Regions from separate parts of the Homo sapiens genome. Here region 1 is linked to region 2. The links are contacts of gene promoters, found by promoter capture Hi-C in blood cells and fetal thymus (Javierre and others, 2016). All regions are on one chromosome and are shown on one strand. The core of a region is centred on a gene start or on the middle of the fragment in contact, and the rest is flanking DNA. Distances in the headings are between cores, read along the strand shown.

Evidence for each region. The method cuts DNA at HindIII sites, captures the fragments that hold promoters and counts their contacts. A CHiCAGO score of 5 or more calls a contact.
Region 1: a contact is called between a fragment that was not itself captured here and the fragment with the promoter of MED28 in region 2, in 1 of 17 cell types (monocytes). The highest score is 6.1, in monocytes.

The regions. Positions count from the first base shown.
Region 1 is chr4:10,103,852-10,106,551 of GRCh38, forward strand. It overlaps WDR1 (WD repeat domain 1), which reads right to left. Exons shown (of 15, transcript NM_017491.5): 3 at 45-135. Among named protein-coding and RNA genes, the nearest start is that of WDR1, 12 kb to the right of the region's middle. The HindIII fragment of the contact is 1,084 bases long and covers 899-1,982 here.
Region 2 is chr4:17,613,375-17,616,074 of GRCh38, forward strand. MED28 (mediator complex subunit 28) reads left to right here and starts at 1,267. Exons shown (of 4, transcript NM_025205.5): 1 at 1,267-1,439. The coding sequence starts at 1,281. MED28-DT (MED28 divergent transcript) reads right to left here and starts at 1,206. Exons shown (of 3, transcript NR_186331.1): 1 at 768-1,206; 2 at 558-664. RefSeq lists enhancers at 612-1,811, 917-1,206, 1,307-1,416. The HindIII fragment of the contact is 7,436 bases long and covers 1-1,357 here.

The sequences.
Region 1 (2,700 bases), core at 191-2,690, 7.5 Mb before region 2:
CCAGGCCCCCACAGGTGTCCACGAGCCTTGCCCCCATACAGTACCTCCGGAGGCAATGTAGAATCCGCTGGGCGCATACTTGGCCACCACCACCTGATGGGCGTGCTCTGTGTAGATGTCAGCAAGGGCTGGGTTCTGCAGGAGGAGACCCCGGAATGAACAGAAGGAATGGAGAAGCAGTCAAGCTTCCAGCTCTCCACATCAACAGATATGGGGTGAAAGGGGTGTACAAAGAAACACTGAAGCTAAAACCGTGAAGAAAACCGCAGAAGCATACCACTTGCCTACGTATCTACTGCCTGCCTACCTATCTCTGGGTGATAGAATTTCATGTTACTTTAATTCGTTCTCCTTAGTCTATGACTGTACAACAAGGTGATTTTTTTCCTTTTCTGCTTTTCTGTACTTTCCATAATACAGAACAAATATATCAGTGAAACAGATACACAAAAGGTGGATTAGAGCAAGAAGCCCTGGTTCTAATCCCTCCCATTTGTGGGAAGCTGCATTCATTCCAGCGCTCTGTTCTCTTCCGTGTTTAGGACCAGCTCTCCTGGCTGCCAATCAATGTTGGACCCCAAACTCAGCGCCTGGCTGTGCTGTGCAGGAGCAGAGCAGGACACGCTGTGGGAGCCCTCTCTATCAAAAACTTGGGTTTGGAAAGGAAAGTCGATTCCCCACTCCCTTGCATAGCACAGATCAAAGGCTGGGTGGACTTTGTGGCAAAAATGGGGCCAACATTTGAGACTAGAAGCATCTTCAGCAATGAGGTTTCAACATGTAATGTGCTAAAAGTAGATCCCTGCGCCTCCCTCCCGGCATACACACACACGCAGGGCCTCAGTGAAACAGAAACACACACACACACTGGGCTGCTCTCAATCTGTCTCCACAGTGAAGCTTTCTTTCAGGAGGGAATAAAGACATGGCCATCTAATCTCTGCTACCTACTGTCAGCTTTTTACAAACCAAGTGCTCTTTGAAAGAGGCAGCTTCCCGCCAGCTTGAGGCTTAGGACACACCAGACTCCTGTGAGGGTGCCCGGGCACCCCTAGCATGACCCCACCTGCTGCCACCCCACCCCTCATCTCCCTTAGACCCCTCCTCAAGACCTGAGGGGCCCCCATCTCACGAGACTGAGACCACAGAAGTACAGACCCTGATTCCTGCCCACCTTCTGCCATCCTGTTTAAGCTCCACGTCTGTGTGTAGTCTGTGCCCTTGGCCAGCACCTCTCCCTGCCTACGGACACCCACTCACCCATCAGGCCTAACGGAAGCGTTCCCTCCTCCATGAAGCCTCCAAGTATGGCCCAAGCTATCCGTATCAACTCTTCTGTGCTTCCAGATCATTTAACATGTCCACCGGGATGGCACAACACACATCATAGTCCCTAGCATTCCTGTCCATCTCCTCCAACTCTGCTGTGCCCTGCTTAACATGACCTTTATCTCACTAGCCATCTCAATAAGTGGTTTGGGGGAGAAAAAAAGAAGTACACACAGACCTTCTCTTTCATCCCTAAGACTTAACACAGCATTATGTGATATAATAGACACCAGTCATAAATTAATCCATTTTGGGATAATCGTTCGCCAGTGAAATTAGAATGTATCAAGGTGTCTATCCAAAGAAGATACTACGAATGACAAGTAAGCACATGAAAAAGCGCTCAGTGTCATTAGTCTTGGGAAATGCAAGTCAAAACTACAACAGAATACCACTCCATACTCACTAGAATCAATAAAAAGAAAAGACTGACATCACCAAGTGCTGGCAAGGGTAGAGGGGTGGGGACACTGGAATGTTCACACTGCTGGTGGAAATGCAAAATGGTACAGTTGGAAAAGAGTTGGGCAGGTTATTTATAAACCTAAACAGACACTACTCACACCAAACACCAGCAACCCCACTCCTAGGTATCTGCCCTGGAGAAATGGAAGCATGTGTCCACCAAAAGACACAGGAGCAATGTTCACAGAAGCTTTCTTTGCAATGGCCAAAAACTGGAAATACCCAAATATCCATCAACAGGTGAACAGAGAAACAGGCAACACACCGCACTGCTTAGTGATAGAAAGGAACAAAGTGCAAATGCACTCAACACCAGCTATCAATCGCCAACATGTTATGCAAAGTGAAAAAGCCAGACAGAAAAGACTACACATTGCCTCTCACTTCATATGAAAGAAGATTTTAGAAAAGGCAACCCCAATGACAGAAAGCAGATAAGCAGCTGCTGGGGGTGAGGGTGGAAGGGGTGGCGGGGGCGGGGGGCACCCTCCGGAGTGACAGGAATGTTCTGTCATGACAGGGGTGGTGCTTATGGGACTATATAGGTCATCTGTCAAGATCCAAGCCACACACTGAATACAGACAAATTCTACTGTATCTAAAGTACACCTCAATAAAACTAAGATGCTGGCTATTTATTAAATGTCTGCCCAATCCAACCCTCTCCCACTCCAATTAGTCCTTCATATTCTGACACTGACACATCCCTACCCAAAGCACCTGGCAAGAAAATGATCCACTTAACAGGCAGCCCCTCCAAGACCCTGTTCGGTGTACACTCACAGCTGACTGGGGATGGGGGAGGTCTCACGCTCACATACAGGGGCACCTGCCCATCCCGCCAGACAGATGGCCTCGTGGGCTCTCCCAGCCTGGACGACCTCCTCCCCAGGCCGTGCTGCCGTA
Region 2 (2,700 bases), core at 17-2,516:
AGCCGAGATCGCGCCACTGCATTCCAGCCTGGGCGACAGAGCGAGACTCCGTCACCAAAAAAAAAGAGAGAGATAAGCAAATGTTAAAAGCAGGTTACTACAAGATTAGCAGCCTAGTGCCGGGCGCGGTGGCTCACGCCTGTAATCTCAGCACTTTGGGAGGCCGAGTCGGGCGGATCACGAGGTTAGGAGATCGAGACCATCCTGGCTAACACGGTGAAACCCCATCTCTACCAAATATACAAAAAATTAGCTGGGCGTGGTGGCGGGCGCCTGTAGTCCCAGCTACTCGGGATGCTGAGGCAGGAGAATGGCGTGAACCCGGGAGGCGGAGCTTGCAGTGAGCCAAGATCGCGCCACTGCACTCCAGCCTGGGCGACAAAGCGAGACTCTGTCTCAAAAAAAAAAAATTAGCAGCCTGGCGCCTTGGCTCATTACTGTATTCCCAACACTTTGGGAGGCCGCGGCGGTAGAATCACTTGAGCTCAGTAAAACACCTGACTCAACTAAAAAAAAAAAAAAAAAAAAAAAAAAAAGCCCGTCGCGACTGCACGCACCTGTGGTCCTAGCTACTTGGGTGGCTGAAGTAGGGGGATTGTTTGAGCCCGGGAGGTCGAGCCCTGATCATGACACTGCACTCCGGCCAGGGCGACAGAACGAGACCCTGAGAAAAAAGAAAAGAAAGAAAAAAAAAGATTAGCATAGTGACTTTCTCTTTGATGTAACCATAAATATTTAAAGACATCAGTGCCGGGCACATTGGGAACCTCAACAAAGTTGTTTCCGTTATCCATCTCCGACCAGAATTCAGGAAGAACTTTGCCTGTCTTGTTCCCGCTATAACCAATGACTCAACAAATGTTTGTGGAGTGAGTGGGTGACCCTCTCCTTTTACCAACGGTAAACAGCCCGCGGAAAGAAAAAGTGACTTAGCCAAAGTCTCTCCAGGCATTTGGGGCAGAGTCGGGACTAGCATAGTAGTATCCTGACTCTCGCAGGAGGGCTCGCTCCACTGTAGTTATTAATTCTCCTCTCCACACAACCAGGTCTAATCCGGCCAAAGTCTTCAATTCTTAAGCTAAGAAAAAAGGAAAATACATGTAAACTCTGTTTTGCGATAGACAAGAAAACAGAAGAATTAAAAATCCTCCTTCCGGGGTGCACCAGAATCCTCCCATCGCTCGGTCCTGTCACGTGACCACGCCTACTACACCAGCCACGTGAGCTTCTGAGCCGGCTTCCGCGCAGGCGCAGTGGATCTCTCTTGCGCCATTCCAAACATGGCGGCTCCACTAGGGGGTATGTTTTCTGGGCAGCCACCCGGTCCCCCTCAGGCCCCGCCGGGCCTTCCGGGCCAAGCTTCGCTTCTTCAGGCAGCTCCAGGCGCTCCTAGACCTTCCAGCAGTACTTTGGTGGACGAGTTGGAGTCATCTTTCGAGGTAATATAAGACATGGGCGTCTTTGTCCCTAGCCTTCCCTTTTTTCTGAAACGTGAACTGCGCGTACGCGTATCTCCTCCAGGGATCCGAGCAACTAATTCACAAATGGGGAAACTGAGGCTTAAAGTAAGTCACTTGCTTTAGGCTTCCCCGTGGCCCGTATTCAATTCAGGTCTGCTGGCGGGGGCGCGTAAACTCGACGTTTGTGGAAACGTGAACCCGAAGTTTGCCTAAACCCCAAACTTGGAACCCTTCCAGATTCCCAGCCGGTCCTTAGTCTCATCCCCGAGCACCGTTTCTTGCATCCCTGCATGTTTAGTAAGAGGCTCAAGCCTTTTCGGAGCTGAGAGTTTCACTGCTGTATCCTGTATCCTTTCCGCTGGGCTTCACCTTTAAACGATCCTAAAGGGACTCTTAAGAGCGGAAATTGACTTAAGTTACCAGGCGCAGCTTGGTACTAAGAGCTGAGGAAGGAGGAATGCTGGAGGTTAGGGAGGGAGGGAGGCACAGGTGACCCAATCTCTCAGTTTTGCCCAAGGAGTTTACCTTGTAGCAAGAAAGGTGAACTGTATATTGAGGGAAGATAGAGAGGTGAAAATAAGTGCTCTGGTGATTTCCAGTAGTCTTTAAAGTGGAAGATGAGCTATTCCTGTGTAGTAATAAAGTAATGTACGTTCAAATTGGAGTTAACTTTTCCACATTTTAAATCCCAGTTTTGCCGGGCGCGGTGGCTCACGCCTGTAATCCCAGCACTTTGGGAGGCCGAGGCTGGCGGATCATGAGGTCAGGAGTTCGAGACCAGCCTGACCAACATGGTGAAACCCTGACTCTACTAAAAATACAAAAATTAGCCAGGCGTGGTGGCGTGCGCCTGTAATCCCAGGTACTCGAGAGGCTGAGGCAGGAGAATCGCTTGAACCTGGGATGCGGAGGTTGCAGTGAGCGGAGACCGCGCCATTGCACTCCAGCGTGGGTGACAAGAGCTCGACTCCGTCTCAAAAAAGTAAAATAAAATATAAATAAATAAAAATCCCAACTTTGTGACTTTTGTATTGTATCTAATAGCACAGTGGTAAATGAATATAATTTGCAAGCGATTATTCAGACTGCATGGACAAAATGCTTTTACCACACGGATGTACAAAGATTTAGAAATAAATGATTTGAGATGGAGTCTCACTCTCTCGCCCAGGCTGGAGTACAGTGGCGCAATTTCGGCTTACTGCAACCTCCGCCTCCCGGGTTCAAGCGATTTTCCTGC